Linked DNA regions of Homo sapiens: regions 2, 3, 4, 5 and 6 are each linked to region 1. Evidence: promoter capture Hi-C in 16 types of primary human blood cells and fetal thymus (Javierre and others, 2016). All regions are on one chromosome and are shown on one strand. Each heading gives the region's core, a stretch centred on a gene start or on the middle of the fragment in contact. The rest is flanking DNA. Distances are from core to core; before and after follow the strand shown. Region 1 holds the start of MPZL1 (myelin protein zero like 1). Region 2 overlaps GPA33 (glycoprotein A33). Region 3 holds the start of GPA33 (glycoprotein A33). Region 4 overlaps TADA1 (transcriptional adaptor 1). Region 5 holds the start of POGK (pogo transposable element derived with KRAB domain). Region 6 has its middle 9.8 kb from the start of TADA1.

Region 1 (2,700 bases), core at 157-2,656:
GATTACAAGTGTGAGCCACCGCACCCGGCCCTCATTTTTACAAATGTAATTGAGTACTTGTTTGTGTACACTAGTAGACGATGTGCTTCTTGAGAGTAAAGCCCAGGTGTTCTACATCCATGGTTCAATTAATGCATTGGTATCTTTTCCAACCTATGGCATTTGAGATACAACTTCAAAAGGATCTGCTGACAGAAATAGGGCAAAGTGGTTCTGGTATTTTTTTTTTTTAAGTTTTTTTCTCACTAATGTTCTTATGATTTCGCTGTACTGCAATGTTAGCTGAAACAGCACAGATATCAGGAATGGCATTGTTAAGACTGACCTTAGACAAAAACCCTGAAGTGAGAGGTTACATTTTGGGTTCTCACCATACTCTTCCCCCGCTCTTGTCCTAATTGTCTAAAGCTTGCTTCCCTTCCTCATCGTATCAGCCTCCCACCTGAATCTTCCCTTTTCCTCCTTCACACTCATCTTTCTTGTGCCCCTGTCCCCCATTTTTCCCTTTTGTAAGCCATTTTCATAAGGATCCTTCCAAATATTTCCCCTATTGATTGGACAACCCGTAGGTGGCAGACTGTTCTGGGCCAAGGCAACCAAGTTGAGCAGGGCCAGCAATCAGTGTCGGGAACTTCTGCAGGGCACTTCAGAATCAGTGTTGGGAACTTCTGCTTTCTATTTTTCACGGACACAGACAGGAACACAGATATGCGAAAGCAAAACAATCAAAAAGCATTTTCATTTGTTTTTCAGGTAGTAGGAAAGAGTTCCAGATTCCCATCCTTCTGAAGCCAGGAGGGAGGTTCCTAAGAGGAGGTTAGGGCAAGATGGAGACTTCTTTTTAAACTAGTAGATTTCGCAAATTGCAACACATACATTATCTAGTCCACGCAAAGGACAGGCCTTGGGGACACGGCACGGGGAACGTGTTCCACCTGGACGACTGAATCAGAAGTCTCTCCCCCATCAATTGAACGCCTCATTATTTTTCTTTCTGTCTTTTCTTTCTTTTTAAGGTAAATGAATTGCTTCTTTTTCGTTAGGTGAGGCCGGCAGAGAACAAGAAGAGCTGAAACGGAGGCGAGGTTAGTACCCAGCAAAGACCTGTGGCGAGGAGAGACAATGAAGAGGACCACGGGACTGGACCCTGAGAAAGGCAGAGGAGACGCTGGCTGGTGGGGCCCGCAGGCGGACAGCCACGCAGGCAGGCGGAAGGCTCGGCTCGGCCTGGGACCGCTGCAGACCCGGCCTCCGCGCGGGGCCGAGGCGCCTGGGTGGGACCGAGGAGGCGGGGCCTTCCCGGCGGACGGATGATGGACAGCCTGACTCTCCAATCGCGTCCTTAAAAGGGTGCGGGCAGGCCAATGAGCGGACAGCGAGGGCCGGAGTGGGGCTGAGGCTTCGGTGCAGAGCTGGAGAGCCGCGGCTGGGACCGGAGTGGGGAGCGCGGCGTGGAGGTGCCACCCGGCGCGGGTGGCGGAGAGATCAGAAGCCTCTTCCCCAAGCCGAGCCAACCTCAGCGGGGACCCGGGCTCAGGGACGCGGCGGCGGCGGCGGCGACTGCAGTGGCTGGACGATGGCAGCGTCCGCCGGAGCCGGGGCGGTGATTGCAGCCCCAGACAGCCGGCGCTGGCTGTGGTCGGTGCTGGCGGCGGCGCTTGGGCTCTGTAAGTGATGCCAGGACCAGGGCTGGGGCCGGGGAGTGGGGCCCCCGGGCCCGACACACGCCCATCGCGGCGGTCGCAGGCCAGGCGCGCGCACTGAGAGCCGAGGTGGGGAGGGGGCGCGGCCTGCGCTCTCTGGGGCCGAGGGGACCCAGCCCATGGGGAACGCGGGCCTCCGCGACTGGCCGGGAAGGCGCAGAGCCTCTTTCTTCTCTTTCCTGGATCCTGGAGTGCGGAGGAGGAGGGGAGAGTGCTTTACCTTGCTCCTTCCCGGGGGGCGGTCCAGGGGAGCGGACCCGGCGGGCGGCTGCGGTGAGCCCTCGCGGCGCACCCTGCCCTCTCCTCGTGGTGACTCTGGATCGTCTAGGCCCTCCCGGATTCTGACTCAGGAACTAGGGTTCTGGCGTTCTTCACCTTTGGGAGGTGGCGGAAAGTTGCAGGTTTTTCATTTGTAGGGCCTTTGTTGATTTGTTTCCTGTTAAGCCAGGGTTTTGTTGTAAGTTCCCTTTCCCATGCTCTCATTCAGTTTTAAGTCTCCGTAATAAAAGAGTCTCATTTCCGTGGTCTGCAAAACGCCAATAAAAAAATATTGTTACTTCTAGGTTAGAATGCAAAGAGCTTGGAATACCAGTGAGATGGCCTGGCTTAAAAGAATTTGGTCAAATCCATCATAATTCCAGACGTAGCCACCATAATTTGACAAGACATAGAGCATTAAAAAGCATAATTTTCCTAAAGGAAAAAAAAAGCTCCTTTTTCTTACCAAATATTGTGACTCAAGCTTAAGGTAAACCTCGGGCTCAATTTATGGGAATTGGATGACTTGTTTTATGGACATCTGAAGTGGTATCTGCCACAGGACTTTTCTGTGTTGTTGTTCAAAGCAAAGTACTTGTTGCTGTCTCCGAATTTAGTTAAATAATAGTTATAAAGAGGGCCAGCTGCTAAGAAACCACGTAGATTTTTTTCATTCCCTTTGTTTTCAAAATGTCAGTTATGATTTAGCATCACAGTATCTGAATACCAGAGTTTACTC
Region 2 (2,700 bases), core at 97-2,596, 660 kb before region 1:
TCTGTTCAGAGCTATTACACATGGGATCTCCTCTCATCCTCTTCACAGCTTTTGGGGAATCCCAGTTTTTTTCAAAGGGCAGTACTAAGGGTCCGAGAGGCTGTGAGTGACTCACAGCTCCAAAGTGGAGAAGTCAGGACTTCTTGTTTCCTGATTCTGGATTCCCTGTTCTTTTCACTGCTAGCTTGTTTCCACTGAGGGTTTAGTCAAAGGAATGAATCTCTAATGTTGGAAATTGTCTTCAGATGTAGGAGAGCAGAGGTACCCTCCTCTCCAAATCGTCCATGGTGGACTGAAATGTTTTAAAAGCCAGAAATAATTTGGGCTGACCCACAGAGGAAGAAGAATTAGCAGATTCTCTCTATTTATTTTTTGTTTGTTTGTTTTGTGTTTTTAAGATAAGATCTGGCTCTAGTGCCCAGGCTGCAGTGGCACCATCTTGGCTCACTGCAACCTCTGCCTTCCAGGCCCAAGGATCTTCCCACCTCAGCCTCCCAAGTAGCTGGGACTACAGGCACACACCACCATGCCAGGCTAATTTTTGTATTTTTGGTAGAGACAGGGTTTCACCATGTTGCCCAGGTGGGTCTCGAACTCCTGTACTCAAGCGATCCACCCGCCTCAGCTTCTCAAAGTGCTGGGATTACAGGCATGAGCCACACTGCACCTGGCCAGAATTGGCAGATTCTCCAAGGCTCTGCAAAGCAGAGTGGAAACGAAGGCTTTGAGAACTCTGCCCTCACCCCGCAATGTCTCCAGATGCCAGGGCATGTTGTTATGGACATTAACCATATTCTTTTCTGTCACCTGCAGGTCCCCATTCTGACTCAGCAAATCTTAACTAGAGACAGGATAAAGCTTTCACAAATTAAAGCTTTCACAAATTAAAGAAGCAATTCTCTTTTCACCTCCTTTCCTGTCCTCAGGATTCTCCCTTTTGGATAATGAAAGAACTAAGTTTTGGCTTCTAACAACCAGAAGAGTCTCCCTGTGGAGGCAGGAGAGAACTGCAGCTGGGCTGCCCCTTTGTGAGGCTCCTCAGAAGGTACCCGTGGCTTACAGGGCAAAGACGAACCTCCCTAGCGTAACGCACAGGCTCTTCATGATTTCTCATCACTGTGTTTCTTAACAAGAGTATCTCCCACCATTCCTACACCTACACACGCACCCTACCCCTTAGCCACACCAGACAGTCATGATTCCTTCCTGTTCTCCATGCCAAGCCTCCTCATCCTTGAGGACCCAACTCAAATAACAGCTAATAACACTTAGCATTAAATGAGTGCTTACTGCCTACCAGGCACTAGTCTCAATGCTTCACATCTACTTTTATTTAATCTTCACAACCCTATGAAGTAAACACTAGCATTGTACCCATTTCATAGACATAGAACCTAAGGCACAAAGAAGCTGAGTCACTTGCCAAGGTCATACAGCTAACAAGTGTCCGAGCCAGGAGTCAAGCCCATGGCATGCTCTTAACCACTGTCGACTCCAATACCCACTCCTTGGAGAAACCTTCTTTGATCTTCTTATGCATCTTCTGTGTTACATCACCACTGGGTATAAAGCTATTATAGCATCTGCCACCTGTAACCTTCAGCTTTGGGTCTCCATATACACACTTTGCAGGAAAGAAGATCAGACACTACCAGTGTCCACAGCACACCTACCATGACCATGGCTGGAGTCACTAGACTATTCATAGGCCAGAGAGAGGAGGCCACAGAGCCCCCGGGGAGCTGCCAGGTGGTTTCAACAAAAATTCCAGACACACTCGATAAAAAGTTGCCAACCAGAAATACGTAAACACAACTGGAAGCTTGTTGAAAACCTACATTACATTGACCTATTTTAAGTTAGGTCGAGTGGATTCTACTAACTGTTTTTTTTTTTTTTTTTTTTTTTTTTTGAGACGGAGTCTCGCTCTGTTGCCCAGGCTGCAGGCTGGAGTGCGGTGGCGCGATCTCGGCTCACTGCAAGCTCCGCCTCCCAGGTTCACGCCATTCTCCTACCTCAGCCTCCGGAGTAGCTGGGACTACAGGCGTCCGCCACCACGTCCGGCTAATTTTTTGTATTTTTAGTAGAGACGGGGTTTCACCGTGTTAGCCAGGATGGTCTCGATCTCCTGACCTCGTGATCCGCCTGCCTCAGCCTCCCAAAGTGTCTACTAACTTTTTTAAGAAGTCGATTTGCCCCCAAACGAGTGATAAAGCTCTTCCTGGATTGAGTGCACCCCCAATGTGTGCATCCGTCCGGCTGGGCTTATCCAGGACACCAGATATTCTTCCCCCGGGTCCTCATCCCCACCCCCGGGGCACCTCATCTTCTCAGAAGAGCTGTGTGCCCTGCTGGCTTTGCTTTCCACCTCTGGCCTCCTTTTCCACCTACACTGAACTGAAAGACCTCCCAGAAGCTAAATCGGATGGACACCTTTCAGGCCTTGTCTTTCTTTTTAAAAAATATTTTATTTATTTTATTTTATTTTACTTTATTTTATTTTATTTTACTTTATTTTATTTTATTTTATTTGAGGCAGGGTCTCGCTCTGTCACCAAGGCTGGAGTGCAGTGGTGTGATCATGGCTCACTGCAGCCTCGACCTCCAGAGCTTAAGCAATCCTCCCACCTCAGCCTTCTGAGTAGCTGGGACTAAAGGGTGAGTCCTGCCATGCCCAGCTAATTTTTTAAAAATTTTGTT
Region 3 (2,700 bases), core at 146-2,645, 630 kb before region 1:
ACCTGCACAAACTATGTGCTCAGTAAAGAGTTGTTTGGATAAAGGAATGAGCCAACCAGTCCATCTTGGTGGATGATGAGGGGCTTTCTGCCTTCAGTCAGATGAACTTGAGCCAGCCTGAGAGAATGATCTTACCCAGATCTTCCTCCAAACCGTGTGATCCAGCCCTTCCCCAGCAGCAGGCTGCCCTTCCCTCGAGAGCCCCAAGGCCAGGTGTTGAGAGAAAAGCATGTCTAGGGCCTGGGAGAACCAGAATGAGCTGTAGGCCCCGTGGCCCGGGGCTTTCCTGTGTATGCTAAAAAGTGAGCTCTAAACCAGTCTCCTGGTTTCCACTTCCCCAGGCTTGGTGCTCCTGAGTTTCCTGGTATAGCTCTTCTCCTCCCCGTTGCAGCTGGATCCTGGAAGCCCTCAACAGTGTCTGAATTGCAAGGTGATGGCCAAATACACTAAACCAAAGATATTCCTAAACTTTGCCAAACCCTGCGTCTCTCAACTTCCTTCTCTCCATTCTATTTCCTTCCAATGCCCAGCAAAATGGTTGGTACCTTAATGCCAAGACTTTCATTCTAACCCTTAGACACTCCATAGGTCCCCACAGAACACTGTGCTATTAAGCACTTGATGTGGATTCAACCATATACTCATGAATGTCTGATTTTGTTCTGGGAGGTTTCCCTCCCAGAGGGAAATGCTCAGAGTCCCAGAATTTTCAATGACCAGGGTCCCAGAAGTGGCAAGGAGCTTTGGCCTTTGGAAAAGACCCATCTAGTTTGTTGTTTGTTTTTAGGGTTTGAATCTTCTCTTGCTCTGTGAATGATACGGGATAAGTTGCATTGTCTCTTCTGCCTCAGTTTCCTGTCTCTTTCTCTGGTTTTAACACAAACGTTAATATACTAGATAATGAACATATCTAGATCCACACATCCTGGATTTTCTAGGACAACTCCGATTTCAAATACTTTGTCCACATTGTCAAATCCTGTGTCTGATCCTATAATCTAATTTGGGATAAGAAAATATGGTCTTGAGAGTACTTTGAATTCTTCATTTCAGCAGTGGGCTAGAATGTTATTTACTAATATGTAAATAAAAACCATTCTGATTCTGGGCACTGGTCCGGAATGTGTAATTCTGGCCCAGCAGGAACGCAGCTGTGTTGCTGGAGGCCCTTCCTGGGAAGGCTCTGACAGAGCCTCTCCTTCAGCCCTAGGTCCCCATGTCTCACCCACCCCTGGGCACTGGAGAGAAAAGGGGCCTACTCACCTGCACAGAGTGTCCACAACACAGGCCACATCTTCCCCACCATGGTCTTGCTTCTTCTCTGCCCTAAACCTAACCTGTCACTGGCAGCCTCCAGACAGGTCTGAGCTGTCTGGTTAAAGCTACAGCAGCTTCTGGCCTGGCCCAACTGGAGGTCCCTGCAATTTTCCCTCTTCTCACCCACCTCTGCCCAGCCTCAGCTGGATTGGCAGGTGAGCTCCTCAGCTGGATTGGCAGGTGAGCTGGGGCTGGGCTCATGTGTCACCTACTCCAAAGGTCCCAAGAGGAGTCTTCCCTACTTCCCTCAAGTTCCCCTTAAACCAGCCACCTCCCCTGCCTTCTCCCTACTTAACAAGTGTACAAAGTCCTAGACTGCTCACAAAGGGGTAGGCCTCTCTTATAACTGACAGGAAATAAATAATAAAAAGGGAAATGCACTCAGAGGTAGGGTTCCAAGCTAGTAAAAGAAGGGTGTTGCCCATATTTGCTGAAACACTTCAAGACACAATGTGATCTGTTTCTCTACTTCTCTCCTCTTCTACAGCCTCCACCCCACAGTGCGCAAGAGATATAGTCATGAAGAAAACAGGAAGTCTCCCCCTTCAGAGTTTATATTCTGACTGGGAAAGTAGCAAGTTCATAAGTGAAAGAAGATCATCTTGGGGACATGTGACCAACTTGTCTCACTTTTCCTAGGACTGTCCTGGTTTTCAAACCAAAAGGAACCCCCTCAGTCCCAAGCAAATTTGGATGATGGTCACCCTACTGAAAGAATGATCAGTGGTGTGGGACCATAATTCTCCAGGAGCAGTGGCTGTTGCTGGTTTCTTCCATAGATATTTTAGATATATATACACTGTTCTGCAATGATTTATTCATTTTTCATTTAATGAAAGGTTTTAGAAAGCTTTCTGTATCGGTATGTATAGCACCACCACCATCATCTTTTTAAAATGGGGATGATATTTCACTGTATATGAGTGACATGATTTATTTAACCAAACTACTTTTAAGATTGTTTTTCCTCATCTTTCACAACTATGAAAAGATTGCAACCAATATCTATTATGTGTACGATATTTCACACGTGTTGTGATTATACATGTAAGATAAATTCTTAAAAGTAAAATTTCTGACTCACTGAAAGTTATGCATATTTGTAATTTTTATAGATATTGCTAAACTAGCTACCATGAGAATTTTACAGCCTACACTCCTATTAGCAGCATATAAGGATACCTATCTCCCCACACACTCACTAACACAGTTACCAAGTGTTTATGACACAGTTATCAAACTTTCTGCTCATCGCCAATCTAAGTGAACATGATATCCCATGTATATATAATTTACTTTTTAAAATTATTAGTGAAATTTGGCCAGGCGCGGTGGCTCACGCCTGTAATCACAGCACTTTGAGAGGCCAAGGTGGGCTGATCA
Region 4 (2,700 bases), core at 70-2,569, 860 kb before region 1:
CATCAAATTAGTTTTGTCAAGTAACTAAATGAATAAAATGAATGGACAAATGAAATCATGAGCAGAGACAAGAATTCTGCTGTTCAGATGCCAAGACTAATACTCTTCAGTGCTGTATCACAGCAAAAACAAGTGACTTTAATCTATAGGATTCTCAATTTCATTTCTTTCCTTAAAAACCATTCCCCTGTTGACAAAACATCAGATCAACCAGAAGAGTTATGCCATAAATAACCTTTCTGAAAAGCTTAGTCTATTAACTGAAGACAACTATTTGGATTATAATGAGTTTCTCCTCTTAAAAGAAAACAACTTTTAGCCAGGTGCTATGGCTCACACATGTAAATCCCAGCACCTTGGGAGGCCAAGGCGGGAAGATCACTTGAGCCCATGAATTCGAGACCAGTTAGGCAAGAGAGAGAGACCCCCATCCCTAAAAAATTTTTTTTTTTTAAATTAGCTGAGTATGGTGGCGCACGTCTATACTCCCAGCTCTTGAGAGGCTGAGGCAGGAGGATCGCTTGAGCCCAGGATTTCCAGGTTGCAGTGAGCCATGATCGTGCCACTGCACTCCAGCCTGGGAGACAAAGTGATGCTGTCTCAAAAAAAACAGAAAACAACTTCAACAATGACAATTCTGTGAAATCAGAGTGACATTTGGATTCTTTTCTTGCAATACCGACTTTAAACAACACACAAGCCTATCACATTCAACCTGTAAGATTATTTCTGCCAACAGCAAACCAACCTCCACAGCATAGACAACAGCTGAAACAGCCTCCTCGGTGACATTGTCCAGCCCATGCTCATAAGCAGTCACTATCATTCTCCCTTCAAGCTGGCCTCGAGTGGGAAGCATCATTGTGTGGGAACAAAGTTTCAAGTCGTCATCATCTTGGGGATCCTTTGCCACAAATTGCTGGGCTCCTGAGAGAGGATTTTGAGGCTGGAATCTATGCTATGAGTAAGAAAAACTTTTTAAAATTACTCATTACAGTAGCAAACAAGACACAAAGTAAACTCCTGTACTGAAGTTGAGATCCTCCAAATTAATGCCACCAAAACTATACCACAGGGGTTAAGGGAAAAAAGAGTTAATTCATGCACAAATAATCACAGATTCACATCCAATACAAGGTAATAATGAAGACATGGATTAAGGGGAATAATGGTAGTTTGCGTAGTAGTTTATTCTATTCAATTAATACCTTGGTGATCACAGAATGTATGGCACTGTGTTAAAAATAACTGAAAGAGAAGGAGAAGTATTGAACTATATTCAAACAAATCAGAGCATTTTAAATCTAACCGTAAGTAGGTTCTAAAAGTATAAACATATAATGAATGATTCAATTAAATCTTAAAAAGCCTAGCTAACCAATATGGCAGATCTAGTAACAAATATTCCAAGATAATGCTATGTAGAGTAACTACTTAATTGCTGTTATTTTCTACTTAGAATTCTCAACACAGAACCTAAGATACAGTCATGACTATTTTTCTCAGTCTTTTTCATTCATAAAATCTCAGCCTTCCTCAGGGAGATTCTGATAGCCCATTCATGTTCTCCATCACCACCTGGAGTTATGCCCCAGTACCTTTTGCTTAAGGCTAATATAAAAGATTTTGTAGTGAAGATGGTTTGTCCCTGTTTGAAATTGATATTATGAAAACAACATGGTTATTTTTCCATTTTCCAAGTATAAAACTACTTTATATTGAACATCTCTTTTTAAATCAGACATGTCTCTCTAGAGATCCCAATGGCCTCTACATTCTTACTGATATAAAGCATATAGTCAAGGTGAAAATAAATAATTGTTTATTGATGTTAATCAATAAAGCTATCAATACCCCATAAACCTATAAAAGGGTTACTTCGGGGAAGTTTTTTTCCCTAAATATACACTGAAAAAAGCAATTTGTTTTAAAATGCTTACAAATTTTATAGCCAAATGCCTTCATGACATCTCTACTAGTCCTCAAAAGGCTCAGGGCCCAGCTGGACATCACCAGGACCCCATTAAAGGCCTCCAGGCTGCCTGAGCCCTTGAGACAGATGTCTTCATCCAAGAAACATTATTCATTCAAGAAAAATACTTAACAGGAGAGACAAAAGCATTGTTTTGAATAACTGAAAAATCATTAGGTACTAATGATAACATTACTATTTAAGCAGTAACAAACAAGAACTATAAAAATTCAGACACCTAGAACTCACAATCCTTGAAACGCTTTTCTTCCCAAATCATACTCCTTTTTTTCAACTCTACTACCAGTATTTTAATATTCATTTAAAAACTAAAGCTAGTCCCAACATGCCACTACTTCAATCAGTCATTATCAAGACCTATTAAAGAACAACCTACATCAAATTTCTGACGAACAGAAGAAAGCTTTTTCTTTCCCTTGGGTTTTCCAGGTTTTGCTGCGGAACCCCCTGGCCAAGGCAAAGATCCAGCACCATCTAGGAGACAGAAATATATAACCATAAGTAAAAATAATGACAACTGATAACTGCTAAGTTTGTTTTCATTTGGGGTAAAAAGCATGGAATGCTCATGAAATGCAAATAACTAATGAATGCTTAAATCAAAACCTTCTCTTTCTACTTCTCTAAATAAAATTATCGATCCTCTCAAATCACATTTTTTTCCTAGCTGCAACTAAAATTTTTTTAGGAAGACAAATTTTTTTATA
Region 5 (2,700 bases), core at 111-2,610, 880 kb before region 1:
CGTTATGTCATGCTACATTTTACGTGTTAAGAGCACAGTGCACAGTGACCTCTCCCATGACTGAGAGAAGTAAAATTCACATGTAAGTAGTAGTGGCCACAAAAACTTGGAAAGACAGGTCTTTTCCAACAGATATTCAGGTCTCAGAGACAATCTGAAGAGTTTGACGGACTCTTTCCTTGACCAAAGTTTAATCAGGCTTAAGTCCTCTTCTTCAGCAGGCCTCCACCCTGGTCCCCTGACCACTCACCCCGAACCTTTGGCCTGCCCAGCTCTATTTTAGCAAGAACCCTGCTAAGTTAGGTTAGAGAGAAATCACCACCCTTGATATCTGATCACCCTGGATATCTGATCAAATTTCTCATTCCCCCACCCTTGATATCTGATCGCCCTAGCCTGCCTTCAGCAAGAATCCTGTTAAGTGGGTTCAGCAAGAATCCCTCTAGGTGCTTGATGTCTCGTATCAGTAACTTTCCATCTACTGACCCCTTCGTTCTGCTCCTTGGCTATACATCCCCAGCTGTCCTTACTGTATTCCGTGTTAGACCTCATCTCTCCCCCCAGTGTGATCATCTTTACACCTATAGCAATAACCCTGTATAAAGTCTTCCTTACTGTTTTAACAAGTGTCAGAATAATTTTTTCTTCAACAAGTTCTCAACAAAAACCCATACCCAGAATCTTTTTCTGGAATGAAAAGGGCTTCAGGGCTTCTCAGGTCACTTTTGTTGTATTGCCCACAGAGCTGAGAGTAAACAACTCCTTTGGACGTTTTGGAGAAGAAAGGTCCTTCTATACACCCACTTCATCCAAGGAATTACATGCTTGGGATATTAAGCAACAGCTACAAAAATCAGGAAGTTCCTTCTCCATGTATATGACGAAGTTCTGGACAGGAGCCCGCTGCCAGAATACGAATACTCTTCCCCAAAGACCCCTCCTCATGCCCCTACACGCTCTTGCCGGTCTAGCCTTTCATTGCCTGAAGCACGGCGAGAACGCCTGGAGAGCTCGTCCAAGCAAGTGCAACCCGCTGGTGACTGCAAATGAGCACATGGAACTGTGCGCCCACGCTACGCTCGGTTAAAATCAATCTGGGCTCTTCCTGCCTCGTCCACGCCGAGGTCACACGCAGCACTGGAAGCGGCCTGCATCGGGCGGGGCGGGGAAGGCCGAGGGCACGGCTACCCAGGCCCGCCAGGGACTGCCCGGACCGGCCGGAAGCCGCGCCTAGAGGAGGGCCCCGGAGCTCGCGCGGGCGCCGTCCCCCGGCGCCGCCGAGGCCTGCTGACATCAGCCGCGCTCCTCCCCTCGCCTCCCAACACCCTCAGCTCCGGGCCGGACCCTCCCTCCTCCCACCACGTGTCCTCCCCGCTCCCTCCCGAGGGGCCGCGCGCACGGGAGGACGGAGAGGCGGAAAGGATGGCGCTGTGACAGCCGGGCCGGAGCCCTCGCGTCCCCACCCCGCGCCCTGGCCGCTGGGCCCGGCGGTGAGTGCGCGCGGGCGGGGGCGGCGGCGGCGCGGCCCCTCCCCCGGGTCCCGGGCGGCTGGGCCGCGGCAGAGGCGGGGGCGCCGAGGCTGCGCCGCCGCCGCCGCCGCCTTTGTTGCGGGCCCGCCGGGGAGGCGGGCGGCGCCGGCTCTCGCCGCCCGGCAGGTGCGCTGGGGCCGGGAGGGGGCCAGGTGGGGAGGCGGGCCGGGCGGAGGGGGCAGCGGAAGCGCTCCCGGCGCGGTTCCGCGGAGAAAGGGAAATGGGGCAAGATGGCTGGAGAAATCCGAACGCGCCCGGGGGCGCGGCGGCGGTGGCGCAGGCGGGGCAGGGCGGGCGGCGGCCCTGGTTGCGGCACCTTAGCGCGGGGAGGCGGCCCCTCCCACCTCTGCCCCGGAGCCGGCAGGGAGACCGCCGCCAAGTTCGGGCCCCAGCTGCAGGCATCTGAAGCCTAGACCCATCCATGCCGCGTTCGCCTATCTTTTTTGGAAATATCGAAGGAACCGACTTTGAACTCCAGAGGGATCTTTTCTTTGGAGGTTCCCCGATGCAGCCCTCAAGATGCATCCGCACTCCACACCTAGGAATTGCCCGCGCCCATAGAGGGCAGGAGTGCGGCCCTTTGTACTGGCCAAGAGTCAGCGAATAGAGAATTTGCAGCCCAGAGGCAATGGGTTATTTCCCTGTCGGGGTGGGCCCCAGCCGATTTCTGCACCTTTTTGGGTATCCAGGCATAACCCTCACTATGTTTCACTGACTCCTGCGTTTGCAAAGTCCCTTAAGGTAGAATGACCCTATTTTCTGAACCAGCTCGTGGACAGAACCTTTGAATTTGGAAAATCCAGGCAATGGGCCTACTGAGCCAACCGCTCCGCCCATGCTTAACTGGCTTCTAGCACCCATTCCAGTTGAGTAAGTGTCCAATCTGTGTTCAGACACCTTCACTGATAGGAAATCAGCACCTTTCCCCTGCCTCTGATTCCTGTTTGGGTGGCACTGGCTGTGAGAAAGTACTGCCTTTCTCACTGCTTAAAACCTTTTCCAGGAGTATTTATCCACTGGCCGGCCTCTGTTCTGCCGTCCAGTCTCTACAAACCAGTCTGGGTTCTCTTCCCCAGATAGCTTTTTAAATATTTGAAGGCAGCCAGATACGTTATCTACCCACAGCCTCTCTTATCATAATTAAACATGTCACCCTGTAGCTTCCTGGCCG
Region 6 (2,700 bases), core at 11-2,510, 840 kb before region 1:
GGTGCCACTTTCAGACCCTCCAATAACGGCAGGGATAGACTCAAAATCATTGACATATTACAGGCAGGGTTGTTACCTACAGGAAGAAATTGACGAATTGTCACATTTGGGGACAACCTGGGAGCTGCGGACCAAAGGGGCCTGACAGCAGTTGAGTGTAAAGGCAGGGCATACAGAGGCCACCTGTAGAGTTTACCCTCTCCCCCACCCTACCACCCACCTTGGGTCCTGAGTGAGGAAGAGAGTAGAGTGCAACCCATTGTGAGCTCTTTCTCATCAGGCTCTAGGAAATAACAACAGCTGATATGTACGAACTCCCTGCTACGAAGTGGGTCTACTACATTACCTCCTTTAGCCCAAACCATAATCCAGTGAGGTTTGAATTGCTGCTATCCCCAGGCCATAAGTGAGGGAACTGAGACTCAGGAAAGTTCAGTTGCTCTAGGTTACACAGGAAGTGGCAGAGTTAAGACTGGAACCTAGATCTCACTGACACCAGAGTCCATTTTGCCACAATAACCACAAAAATATGTTAACTCCAGTGAGCACTTAATATCTGCCAAGCATTGTACTGAATATGTTTTTTGGCGATGATTTAAAATCCTTGCCACAACCCCCCACAAGGTAGGTACTACTATTGTTACTCCCATTTTACAGGGAGATAAACTAAATCATAGAGAGTTAAGAAAATTGCCCACAGTTACACATCTAGTAGAACTGGACATAAGCCCAGTAAGCCCCATTCCAGAACTCATACTCTAGCTACCATGTTCTACTGCTTACTCTAGTGTGAGTGCCCCTGTCCATTTCTTCCTAAAGATTTCATCTGAGACAAGCTGGAATGGTCTGAAAACTCCCTGATGCCCTCCAACCAATGTAGCTGATGCCATCCTTTCAACCATCCACATTCTACTACACCTCCCTGCAGCTCCATGATTTCTGCACACTGTGGGGATGGAGCTCACGCATGCCCTGCACCCACATTTTGAGAGACTCCCCCTCTACAGGCTGCACTGTCCTCACTAGATGCACATCAGATAGGTAAGAGATTTAGGCAGAATAATCTTTTTTGTTTTCTTTTTCTTCCTCTCCCTCCTTCCCCTCCTCCTCCTTCTCCTCTTGATCTGTCACCTGGTTAATTTTATTTTTTATAGAGATGGATTTTTTTTTTGGAGACAGGATCTTGCTCTGTTGCCCAGCCTGGAGTACAATGGCACAATCATGGCTCACTGCAGCCCTCGATCTCCTGGGCTCAAGTGATCCTCTCACCTCAGCCTCCCAAGCCGCTGGGACTACAGGTGTGTACCACCATGCCCAGTTCTTTTTTTTTCTTTTGTAGAGATGAGGGGACTTTCTGTGTTGCCCAGGGTAGTCTTGAACTGCTAGGCTCAAGCAGTTGGCCAATCTCAGCCTCCTAAAGCGCTGGGATTACAGGTGTAAGCCACTGTACCCAGTCCTGTCTTTTTTAATTACAAATATATGACACCTGAGTTTATTGCTTTCCCCAAGTTACCAATTGTTTTGTAGAGTACAAACCTAGAAAATAGTATCTGAATGGTTGACCCCAGTTCAAGAAGATGAGGCAGGTCTCACCCACATGAAACTAGGACTACTGCAATTTCCATATGTTATTTAAAATGGACTTTGTGGAACTGTACCTTTATGGTAGATCCTAACCCAGCTGGCTTTGCTCTGTTTCCTAGTAGGATTTGCGGGGCTTGCAACTTCAAACAAAAAATTCCAGAAGTGTGCCCTTTGCTACTTCTGCATTATTAGAATCTGTTGGAAGCCTGTGATGTTCCATTTGCCTGTGAAGAGGGTGACAGCTGGTGTAAACCAGGGTCATGAAATTTGGCTGCTTCCATGGCAGTGATTTCAACCTGAGGGATGACTACCCAATACAAAATAGTAATGGCGGTCACTGCTAGATATAACGGACTCCTGGGTAGCCTCAAACCTCAAAGTACTTGTATTGCTTTAGGCCTGCATGGCAGGTTTTTGCAGAATGCCAATAATAGGAGCCTCAACCTTTTCCACTATATGCAGAAAAGAGGACAATGGAAAGAAGGAACTGTCTGTGTATGTTCTAATGCCAAGCAGAGCCAGCTTCTCAACAGATAATAATGATGTTAGGAGACATTTATGAAACACTTAACATGTCCACACAAATTAATGTCTAGTCTATTCCAACAATTTCCATGTTAGGTAGGGGATACTGTGGAACCAACCAGGCCAGGGCAATGGAATCCATTCCATCTGGTTGCTATGGAGAGCCCAAGGGGGACTACAGAAAACATGCAGTGTCTGCCCATCATTTCTGGAGCCAGATATAACCAAAGGAGATTACTGGAATTTGCTTGCTTGAACAGATTATTTCTACTTAATTCACCCTACAATAGCTTTCATAAGAGCAATGGTTCTCAACTTCGGTGTTAGAATCACTTGGGAGAATTTTTAGAAATTCCATGCTCTGGCCGTTCCCCAGAACGATTAAACTAGAATGTCTGGGGAATGGAATCCAGGTATCACTATTTTTCAAAGCCCTCCAGAGATTCTAATGCGCAACCATTCCTCATAGTTTTCCCCCTAAACCTTATTTAATAAGCAATAGGGCACCTATGTGACAGGCTGATAGATGCAGGACACCTACCACATCAGCCAGGGCAGAGGACCCCTGTGGGCTGGGAACCCCAAACATTC

The links. Contacts are between HindIII fragments. The CHiCAGO score rates a contact against its expected background, and 5 or more counts as called.
Region 2: a contact is called between a fragment that was not itself captured here and the fragment with the promoter of MPZL1 in region 1, in 2 of 17 cell types (fetal thymus and neutrophils). The highest score is 5.9, in fetal thymus.
Region 3: the fragment with the promoter of GPA33 here is called in contact with the fragment with the promoter of MPZL1 in region 1 in 2 of 17 cell types (total CD8 T cells and naive CD4 T cells); the score reaches 5.2 in total CD8 T cells.
Region 4: a contact is called between a fragment that was not itself captured here and the fragment with the promoter of MPZL1 in region 1, in 1 of 17 cell types (activated CD4 T cells). The highest score is 5.3, in activated CD4 T cells.
Region 5: the fragment with the promoter of POGK here is called in contact with the fragment with the promoter of MPZL1 in region 1 in 10 of 17 cell types (total CD4 T cells, non-activated CD4 T cells, fetal thymus and 7 more); the score reaches 17.5 in total CD4 T cells.
Region 6: a fragment that was not itself captured here is called in contact with the fragment with the promoter of MPZL1 in region 1 in 1 of 17 cell types (fetal thymus); the score reaches 6.1 in fetal thymus.

The regions. Positions count from the first base shown.
Region 1 is chr1:167,720,576-167,723,275 of GRCh38, forward strand. MPZL1 (myelin protein zero like 1) reads left to right here and starts at 1,407. Exons shown (of 6, transcript NM_003953.6): 1 at 1,407-1,667. The coding sequence starts at 1,577. RefSeq lists silencers at 1,047-1,416, 1,807-1,876, 1,907-2,046 and an enhancer at 1,735-2,235. The HindIII fragment of the contact is 2,037 bases long and covers 407-2,443 here.
Region 2 is chr1:167,059,702-167,062,401 of GRCh38, forward strand. All of the region lies in intron 4 of GPA33 (glycoprotein A33), which reads right to left. It overlaps GPA33-AS1 (GPA33 antisense RNA 1), which reads left to right. Exons shown (of 6, transcript XR_922249.3): 3 at 927-1,045. Among named protein-coding and RNA genes, the nearest start is that of GPA33-AS1, 8.4 kb to the left of the region's middle. The HindIII fragment of the contact is 948 bases long and covers 873-1,820 here.
Region 3 is chr1:167,088,982-167,091,681 of GRCh38, forward strand. It overlaps GPA33 (glycoprotein A33), which reads right to left and starts at 1,396. Exons shown (of 7, transcript NM_005814.3): 1 at 1,264-1,396. The coding sequence starts at 1,306. LOC124904451 (a long non-coding RNA gene) reads left to right here. Exons shown (of 3, transcript XR_007066717.1): 2 at 342-430; 3 at 1,805-2,400. RefSeq lists an enhancer at 1,422-1,571. The HindIII fragment of the contact is 4,295 bases long and covers 1-2,165 here.
Region 4 is chr1:166,861,455-166,864,154 of GRCh38, forward strand. It overlaps TADA1 (transcriptional adaptor 1), which reads right to left. Exons shown (of 8, transcript NM_053053.4): 4 at 2,370-2,467; 5 at 749-958. Among named protein-coding and RNA genes, the nearest start is that of TADA1, 13 kb to the right of the region's middle. The HindIII fragment of the contact is 2,149 bases long and covers 246-2,394 here.
Region 5 is chr1:166,838,115-166,840,814 of GRCh38, forward strand. It overlaps POGK (pogo transposable element derived with KRAB domain), which reads left to right and starts at 1,361. Exons shown (of 6, transcript NM_017542.5): 1 at 1,361-1,490. RefSeq lists silencers at 1,117-1,546, 1,647-1,886. The HindIII fragment of the contact is 10,121 bases long and covers 1-2,700 here.
Region 6 is chr1:166,884,697-166,887,396 of GRCh38, forward strand. No RefSeq gene overlaps it. Among named protein-coding and RNA genes, the nearest start is that of TADA1, 9.8 kb to the left of the region's middle. RefSeq lists an enhancer at 1-19. The HindIII fragment of the contact is 5,404 bases long and covers 1-2,700 here.